Linked DNA regions of Homo sapiens: region 2 is linked to region 1. Evidence: promoter capture Hi-C in 16 types of primary human blood cells and fetal thymus (Javierre and others, 2016). All regions are on one chromosome and are shown on one strand. The core of a region is centred on a gene start or on the middle of the fragment in contact, and the rest is flanking DNA. Distances in the headings are between cores, read along the strand shown.

Region 1 (5,043 bases), core at 2,146-4,645:
AGCCGCACATGGTGGCTCACCCCTGTAATCCCAGCACTTTGGGATGCCAAGGTAGGAGGATTGCTTGAAGCCAGGAGTTTAAGACAAGCCTGGCCAACGTAGTAAGACCCAGTCTCTACAAAAAAATTTTTTTAATTAGCCAGGCGTGGTGGTGCACGCTCGTAGTCCCAGCTACTTGGGAGGCTGAGGTCAGCAGATCCCTTGAGCTCAGGAGGTTGAGGCTGCAGTGACCTATGGTTGCACCACTGTGCTCATGCCTGGGTGACAGAGCAAGACCCTGTCTCTAAACAACAACAAAAAAAAACCCAAACTGTCACCACTTACAAGCTGTGTGATCTTGGGCAAATAGCTCAGCCTTCTGAGCCTCAGTTTTCTTATCTGTTAAGTGAGGATAATTGTACCTATCCCATAGTGTTGTTCTGAGGATTAAAGGAGACACTGCCCAGAACCAAGAAAATTAACACTAAATCATGGCTGTTGTTACTATTATTTCCCCCCGGCCTACTGAGAACCAACTAGAATTCATAGGTCAAGGAAGGGATAAACCTACTGCTACAGGTGATTGCCGAGCCAGAGCACGAGTATGAATAGGTGTGGGTGTACGGGTTGTCCAGCAGAAATTTACAGCTGTCCAGCTTCTTGGCCTGGTCATAGCAGTTGTCATGTGTCTGGCAGCACCTGGAAAGTGGGAGGGACAGCTGAGATAGGAGTAAGTGCAGAGCAATAGGTCAGCCCTCACCTGCCCACTCTCAGGAACAGGTGGGGATGACTTCGCCAAGATGCTTCAGGAGAAATGATCCTATGGCTTGAAAAAATATAAGTCCTTTTATCATATATTTATTGAAAGCATTTTTTTTTTTTGAGACAGAGTTGCTCTGTTACCCAGGCTGGACAGCAGTGACACGACCTTGGCTCACTGAAACCTCCAACTCAGTCTCCCAAGTAGCTGGGGTTACAGGCGCTCGCCACCATGTCCGGCTAATTTTTGTATTTTTTAGTAGAGACAGGGTTTCACCATGTTGGCCAGGCTGGTCTCGAACTCCTGACCTCAAGTGATCCGCCCGCCTCGGCCTCCCAAAGTGCTGGGATTACAGGCATGAGCCACCGCGCCTGGCCTGAAAGCGATTTTTAACATGGTTGCAAGAATACAGTAAAATCCTGTATTCAGAAGGTGCAGTGACAACCACTGCTAGAAAATGACACGTGGATAGTTGCTGTGATGTTTACTGTTGCTACATTCTGCCACTGGAGGGCAGCATCGCCCACTGTTTTGCACGTCGGTCATTGTTTCCATCTCTAACGGGGTGCGTTCGCTACAGGGTCCTCTTGGAACATATTTGTTTATTTGACAAGAGGTGAAAATATGTTATCCTTAGCAGATATGCAAGTCCCCTTTGTATGCCTCGTGAGATCCTTGGCGTGTGCCCCACCCCGCCCCCGGCAGGCACTCCAATTTTCCTGCAGGCGGATCACTTACTTGTCCAGTTCATCCACGGGGGTGCCTGAGCCCCCCAAGCCACAGTAGCAGCCGTAGTTGTTGTATTCCAAGAAGGGGTCACTCCCCGGGATCACGCACTTGATCATTTTGCGGAACTGCCACACGGCCCGAGGGCTGATGCCGCTGTCGGCGGCGGCCACTGCAAGAAGACATAGCCAGAGTTCAAATCGGTCTGCCAGCACCCCGGGGACACACTGCCTTCCTGCTCCCTCGGGTCCCACGCTGCCTCCCTGACCCCTGCCAGCTGCCTCCTCTGAAGACCGTTGGACCCAGGAACCTGGTAAAGTGAAAGTGGGTAGAGGTTTTTTTTTTTTTTTAATGAAAACTTTATATATATAAAGTTTATATCTTTGTGTGTGTGTATATATATATATATCTTCTTCTTTTTCTTCTTCTTCTTCTTCTGGGACCCTACCGCCTCAGCTAGGATTACAGGCATGTGCCACCCAGCTAGGCCTGATAGTTTTTTTTTTTTTTTTGAGATGGAGTCTTGCTCTGTTGCCCAGGTTGGAGTGCAGTGACACGATTTCAGCTCACTGCAAACTCTGCTTCCCGGGTTCACGCCATTCTCCTGCCTCAGCCTCCCTAGGTCAGATAGTTTTAAACTATCTGCACTGTTTATCCAGTGAATATTTATTGAGCACTTACTATGTGCCAGGCTCTGTCCTAGGAGCTAGAGATACAGCAGTGAACAGATATAATAATAATAATAATAATAATAATAATAATAATAATAATAATAATCTCTAACCTCATGGAGCTTACAACCTAGTGGGAGAGAAAAACAATAAATAATAAATGTGATAAGGCCGGGCACGGTGGCTCATGCCTGTAATCCCAGCACTTTGGGAGGCCGAGGCAGGCGGATCACAAGGTCATGAGATCGAGACCATCCTGGCTAACACGATGAAACCCCGTCTTTATTAAAAATACAAAAAAATTAGCGGGGCGTGGTGGCAGGCGCCTTTAGTCCCAGCTACTGGGGAGGCTGAGGCGGGAGAATGGCGTGAACCCAGCAGGTGGAGCTTGCAGTGAGCCGAGATCGCACCACTGTACTCCAGCCTTGGCGACAAAGCAAGACTCTGTCTCAATAATAATAAGAATAATAATAAATGTGATAAGTAAGGAAACTGGATACTGCATTAGAAAGGGGAAGAATAGAGCAGGATGAGGAGAATCTAAAAGGGAGGTCACCCAGCCTGGCCAACATGGTGAAAACCTGTCTCTACCAAAAAAAACACACAAAAAATTAGCTGGGCATGGTGGTGTGTGCCAGCTACTTGAGAGCTACAAGTCCCAGCTACTTGAGAGGCTGAGGCAAGAGAATTATTTGAACCCAGGAGATGGAGGTTGTAGTGATCTGAGATCACGCCACCGCACTCCAGCCTGGGCGACAGAGTGAGCCCCGTCTCAAAAATAAAATAAAGTAAAATAAAAATAAAAATTAAAATAAAATAAAATAAATGGGAGATTGGCCTAACTACTTAGTTGAGTAAGGTGGGAGGATCACTTGAGCCCACGAGTTGGAAGCTGTGGTGAGCTATGATCATGCCACTGAACTCCAGCCTGGGTGATAGAGCAAGACCCTGTCTGGAAAAAAGAAAATAAAGGCAAGCTTTCTTAGCTCAGGCAATCTGAGTTCAGACTTGCAGGTTGAAAAAGTGCCAGCCTTGAGGGAACCCCAATAGAGGAGCCCTTAAGCCCCACTGGGAACCTCGAATTGAGACTGCGGGGCTGGCCATCCCTGTTTGCTGTGGCCTGTGGCCCCCATTCCAGAGGAGTGAGATCTTAGCTCACTTGGGAGAGAAAGGCGGGTGGAGCCGGGGAGACTTGCCTACCTGTGAGCAGCACAGCTAGCACAAGGAGTTTCATCTTGCAGTCAAGGTGAGAAAAGAACTGAGATGACCAGTCTCAGGTATAGTCTTATAGTCAGTCTCCACACAACCCTGCCCAGATAAGGCTGGAGTGTTTGCTTTGCTCTTGGCTGAGTTTGGGGCTGGCCTTGAATCTGTCTGTTGCAGGAATGACCCTGACGATTTGCCAGCATGGGATCACTGGAAAATATGTTATGCATTTGTCCTTAGCAACTGTTAACCAAAGGGATGGTTTCTGGAGTTTTCAGATCTTACAATCTTGACCCTCATACCCACCACTTTGTACTCAGCCCAGCTTCACGGGCTGGTTGGGGAAAGCAAAGCCGTCAGTTCAGTCGGACGCTGGGATAAGGGAGACAAGAAGGAAGTGCAGCCTGGGCAACATAGAGAGACCTCATCTCTAAAAAAAAAAATGTTAACCAGGTGTGGTGGTGGATTGCACCTGTGATCCCAGCAACTCAGGAGGCTGAGATGGGAGGATCTCTTGAGCCAGGGAGGTCAAGGCTGCAATGAACAGTGATTGAGCCTCTGCAGCAGAGTGAGACCCTATTTCAAAAAAAAAAAAAAAAAAAGAAAGAAAGAAAAAAGATCGCTGCCTGCAGCCTCAATGTCTTATCAAGTGCCTGAATCTGTGCACTGGGTCTGGTTGAATAGTCCCATCAGTCGTGCACCTTGCAGATAAAGAGACAGGTTCAGAGAGTTGCGGTAACTTGCCCAAGGTCACACAGTTGGCAAATGACAAAATAGGGCTCCAGTTTAGATCTGTCTGATTCCAAGGCAGAGGTTTTATTTTTTTCCACCACTCCGCTCTGCAGTGTGGGTTTGTGAGAAAAACCTGGGCTTTGGATTCCAAAGGCCTGAGTCTGAATTATAGAATACTAAAGGGCATTAGAACTGTCATATCAGAGGCCAGGCACGGTGGCTCATGCCTGTAATCCCAGCACTTTGGGAGGCTGAGGCTGGCAGATCACCTGAGGTGGAGAGTTCGAGACCAGCCTGACCAACATGGAATAACCCTGTCTCTACTAAAAACACAAAATTAGCCAGGCATGGTGGCTTATGCCTGTAATCCCAGCTACTCCGGAGGCCGAGGCAGGAGAATGGCTTGAACCCTGGAGGCGGAGGTTGCGGTGAGCTGAGATCACGCCATTGCACTCCAGCCTAGGGAACAAGAGCAAAACTCCATCTCAAAAAAAAACCTGTCACATCACATATCTATTTATTTATATATATTTTTTGAGACGGAGTCTTGCTCTGTTGCCTAGGCTGGAGTGCAATGGCGCGATCTTGGCTCACTGCAAGCTCTGCCTCCCAGGTTCATGCCATTCTCCTGCCTCAGCCTCCCAAGTAGCTGGGACTACAGGCACCCACCACCACGCCCGGTTAATTTTTTTTTTTGTATTTTTAGTAGAGATGGGGTTTCACCGCATTAGCCAGGATGGTCTCGATCTCCTGACCTCGTGATCCACCTGCCTCGGCCTCCCAAAATGCTGGGATTACAGGCGTGAGCCACCGCGCCCGGCCAAATATCTACATAACATTGTTTAGCTGAAATTCACATAACATTAACCACGTTTAAGTAAACAATTCGGGGGCATTTAGTACCTTCACAGTGTTGTGCAACCATCACCTCTATGGGGTTCCAGAACATTTTTATCACTCCAGAAGGAA
Region 2 (4,424 bases), core at 294-2,793, 370 kb after region 1:
GGATCAAGTCTTAGAGTATATTTCTTTCTCAGGGTTTAGATTCTCCTGGCTGCCAGCATCTCAGGCTGATTTTTGCAGAGAAAGCTGCGTCTTTGTGACATTTCTCCCCCATTCCACCTCTGTACCTTTCCCCAACTCAATCTTGAATGCACTGAGGATTTCATCCTGTTGTCTTGATGTCCCCCAAATGCTGATATTATGACATCTAGGAGGATGAATGTCTTACCACCAAACAGACCTGTGTTCAAGTCCCTGAGGAGGAGGCAGGACAGAGGGATAGTGTGTGCTGGGAACCCAGAACTCTCTGGGTCAACGTTTCTTCAGTTGTTGTGTGAATCAAAAGGGAATGTGGGCTTGTGGGAGGAGGAGGGATTTGAAAAGGCTAAAGTTTAGGCATTGGATCATTGTCCCTGTCCAGTCTGGTTATCTTGGGGCTCTGTAAAAGTAGAACAGGAAGGTAAGATAGTGAACCTCCCTATGAGCACGGCTTTTTCTACTTTCTAGTTAAATCTAAAGCTTTTGCAGCACTCTGCTGTTCTGTAGACCAGAGGCTATTTCTGCTACTTCTGGTCTTTTCTCTGGACCCGGGTTCAATCACAGCAATCTCTTTATTGTGGCTTATTTGCTGCTTTTAAGGGTCTCTCTTACTTAAATGCTGTGGGTCTTAACAGTGTTTTCTTCCTTGTGTTAGATGTACCAAAGCTTCAGCCTCATCCGGGATTGGAGAAGAAAGAAGAGGAAGAAGAAGAAGAAGAATATGATGAAGGGTCTAATCTCAAAAAACAGACCAATAAGAACCGGGTGCAGTCAGGCCCCCGCACACCCAACCCCTATGCCTCGGACAACAGCAGCCTCATGTTTCCCATCCTGGTGGCCTTCGGAGTCTTCATTCCAACCCTCTTCTGCCTCTGCCGGTTGTGAGAACAAATGACTATCCTGAACAGGGTGGAGGGGTGTGGGAAAGAAACCAGCCATATTGGTTTTGGTTTCTGTATTTTTCACAATGATTAATGAACAAAAACAAAGAGAAAAAAACACACATCAATTAAAGGAGACAAAAAGAGGCAGAGCGAGTAGAGAGCAGCCCTCATTCACCACCTGGTCCCAGACGTGCTTCAGTCCTCGTCCTCTCTTTGTGGCTGGCTCCCAGCCTTCTCTTTCCTCTTGAGGATACTTAGGGTAAACTGGATCCTTCCTGCTCAAGGATCCTCATTTGTATACCTAGTGGAAAGGACTCTGAACTCAGAGGAGTCACTGTTCCTTTTTTTAGGTTAGAAATTAACAGCAGGGAAATGCCATCTTATTACCTGAGACGACCAGCACTGGGAGTTAGGTACGGTCTGAAGTTATGTCTAGATAAGACTTCAGACGTCCTGGGATTGAAAGAATGTGTGTGAAGGGGTAGAATTTGTGCGGTAAAGACTTAAAAAAAAAAGTAGGGAGATTAAAAAAAAAGAAAGAAAATGCTTCCTTATCTGGAAGCCTTTCTGGATTAATCCAGTGATGGTCCCACCTTTAGTGTTTGAGCTTTGTCATTGCTTGTCTCCCTGGCATGTGCCAGTTATAGACTGTCCAGCATCCAAGACGTTTCGGTTATGTCGGGTCCTCAGATCGCCTCTGACTTGTTACCACAACAAATCATTTTGATTTCAGTGCCTGTTGGGGACTTGATTTCTTCTCAGTTTTGTTTGTTTGTTTGTTTCCTTAATCTGGCTCATTTGAAATTTCTTCTCCCTCTCAACCATCCCACTAAGTTATAGCCAAGAAGGGAAGGAGACACGGGGATTTGGGGTTCTCTGCTTGAATGTCTTCTCCTTTACCACCTCACCTTGTTGGTACCTCCCTCCCTGGATCTCTGAGCCAGCAGCCAGGAGGACCTGACCCAGCAGTTCTTTACTGGCCCCTTTGTAGGGCCTTGCTGCCAGGGGGCAGGGATGCTTTCCAGCCTGCAGCAACAGAACACTTGACCTTAAAAGTCTCTTCTGGTCTTTGGATTAGAAAAGGCTTATGTTAGCATAGCTTAAGAGCAACCTCAGAGATTTGAGCCCTACTAAGTGACTGACCACTGTTTAGAGTGTCTGGTATCTGATGTTCATTTATTCCCATGTTCTTGTGTGTCACAGTTCAGCCAGTTTTGGTTTATGCCTAGAGCTACTTCAAGGAACTAGACTAATTAGCTATATAGGCCCAGCGATGCTTCTTATTGATCTTAATAGTATGCCCCTCCTTCCCCTGTCCTTTCATTTCTCTATCCAAGTAGCAGTCAGGTTCTTGGTGTGATGGGACTGAAAGAATTCCAGTCAGCCAGAGCCTTGGCAGCTCTGAAGCTAACCTTAGCATCTAAGTGTCGATCTTGAATTCCCTGAAAAAATTTCTATAGGAAATGAAGCTTCCCTGGTCCCCTCCTTTCTGGCCATTGTCATCCATTTCCCAGTTAGGGCAACAATGAAGGAGGACCCAGCCAAGCTAGAAGGAATTTTGTGGATGGGAGACAGCAGGATTAGCTTCAGCTTGGGCTGGAGCAGTCAATATAGGATCTCAGGCCAGGCCCGCTTTTCTAGAATGTGTTTAATTTTGAGTTTGCTTTATTAGATATGTTTTTTAAGAGCTCTGTATATTTGAACTGCTCCTTATGTGACAAAATAGGTAGCTCTTGGGCTCATGTCCTGGGTTTTGGCTCTTTAATGATTACTCCAGGCCAGCATTTAGTCGTTTGAGAATTGTAGCCTGTTGTTTTCGCTGTGACTTGGGTCTCAGTGCTAGGGTATTGAGTCAGGCAGCTGGAGGGTTGTGGCCCGAGGCTGCAGTCAGAGGTATACTTCCCATAGTGCTTCACACAGCTCCCCTGCTTCTAAAGGATAAGGTACTGTAGCCTTGGTCCTGGGGACCACCTGCCTGGGGCAGTGGACATCCTAACTAAACAGGCTTCTGGCAGTAGCTTTGGTTCCTATCCCATCGAAATTCCCCAAAGCCCTGGGCCACTGCCATTGGGTTAGTCAAGATGAAGGAGGAGGACTGGCTGCCTCCATTTTGCCTTGTTTGTTAGTTTGCCTGGGTCTGTCTGAGGAAGGAGGGGGTCCCGCCTTCCACCTCAACACATCCCTTCAGTGACTCAGAGTCTCAGAAGGAAACCCTGACTCCTGGGGCCATTTCCTAATGGTACTGTAAGCCAAGCAGCTTTGCTTCTGCCTCTGTTTCCAAGCCCACCCTTTTCCCCTGAGCTCAGGGTTAGGGATGGGCGCTTTCCTCTCTGGTTGTGAACGAAAGGAAGGAACATCTTTCTATGGCTAACAAAAACTAAAGGGGAAGTGAGGAAACAGGAAGAAGTATGGTGGGGGCTGGGGTAGACTCCCCTGGAGCCAAGCCTATCCAGCTAACAAGAGCTCCCTGGGGCTGGTCACAGCTGGCTCATGATGCTGAACTTGAAAGTTTTTTTGTTTTTGTTTTTGTTTTGTGGCTCCTCCAAGATATAGGTACATGAAGTTTAGGTTAAAGGGGTGGGATTCTTTATTTTTATTTTTGTATTGTATGTGTCAAGAATTACTCTGTTGTTCACCTTTTGCTTTTTGCACTGTTTGTTCTCTTATCTGTATTTTGAGCTTAGTGCTAGGACTGAGAGGCTGCACCATAGGGAATGTATGGGAGATGGTGAGGGGTGCCAGTGAGGGGTGCGTGGAGGAGAGGCCTGGGCTCCTCTACTGGATCTACACTCTGTCCCAGGTTTTTAGATCCCACTGAGCCCAGCTGACTGAAAACAAGGACAGTCAGGGTGAAACTTCTTTTGCCAGAAGTGTGGCCTGAGTTGAATTTCTGGGAGGATGACGCAGATGTCTGCTGCAGAGCTGGGCTGAGAGTTCTGCAGTCTAGCTCTGACTTAGGTCAGGGGCCTGTTGGTCTCTCATTGGACGTTTTTGGGTCTCACTCATGCTTACTGAAACATTGTGCCAAGAAACTCTGTGGGATTTGTGTCCCTTAAACCAGACTCACTTTTCTGAAAAATCTCCATTGTTGAGGAGAGGCTGCTCAATCGACACCCCGAGTTCTCATGACTGGGAAGATAGTTTTCTTCAGGTGTCAATGGCGTTAGACTCCCAGGAAGACTAGCCCTGCCCACAGGGCCACCTGTTGGTTTGAGAGCGTGTTCGTGTTCTCTTGCCCTCCCTGCCTAAGAGCTACTGGGATCACGTTAGCGGGCATTTAGGCTTTGATGAGAGGGCACAGTTTGAGTTAGGTTTACCTCCCCCTTTCTGTGCCTGGGAACTGTTTGGTCCAGCTTTAGAACTGTGGTTTTGACTTCCTTATCTCTTGGGAGAAGCTTCTGTTTTAAGGAATTTCTCTTCCTTCTTCTCCTGCCTCTAGCCTCTCCTGGAAAGGCCTGGATATGGTTTCTAAAATCTCAGCTGAGAACTTCAGAAAACAGCAGC

Evidence for each region. The method cuts DNA at HindIII sites, captures the fragments that hold promoters and counts their contacts. A CHiCAGO score of 5 or more calls a contact.
Region 2: a fragment that was not itself captured here is called in contact with the fragment with the promoter of PLA2G1B in region 1 in 3 of 17 cell types (total CD8 T cells, naive CD4 T cells and activated CD4 T cells); the score reaches 5.8 in total CD8 T cells.

The regions. Positions count from the first base shown.
Region 1 is chr12:120,324,384-120,329,426 of GRCh38, forward strand. PLA2G1B (phospholipase A2 group IB) reads right to left here and starts at 3,396. Exons shown (of 4, transcript NM_000928.3): 1 at 3,337-3,396; 2 at 1,478-1,637; 3 at 551-678. The coding sequence starts at 3,370. RefSeq lists an enhancer at 1,293-1,352. The HindIII fragment of the contact is 6,320 bases long and covers 3,112-5,043 here.
Region 2 is chr12:120,695,625-120,700,048 of GRCh38, forward strand. It overlaps MLEC (malectin), which reads left to right. Exons shown (of 5, transcript NM_014730.4): 5 at 692-4,424. The coding sequence ends at 921. Among named protein-coding and RNA genes, the nearest start is that of MLEC, 11 kb to the left of the region's middle. The HindIII fragment of the contact is 1,687 bases long and covers 701-2,387 here.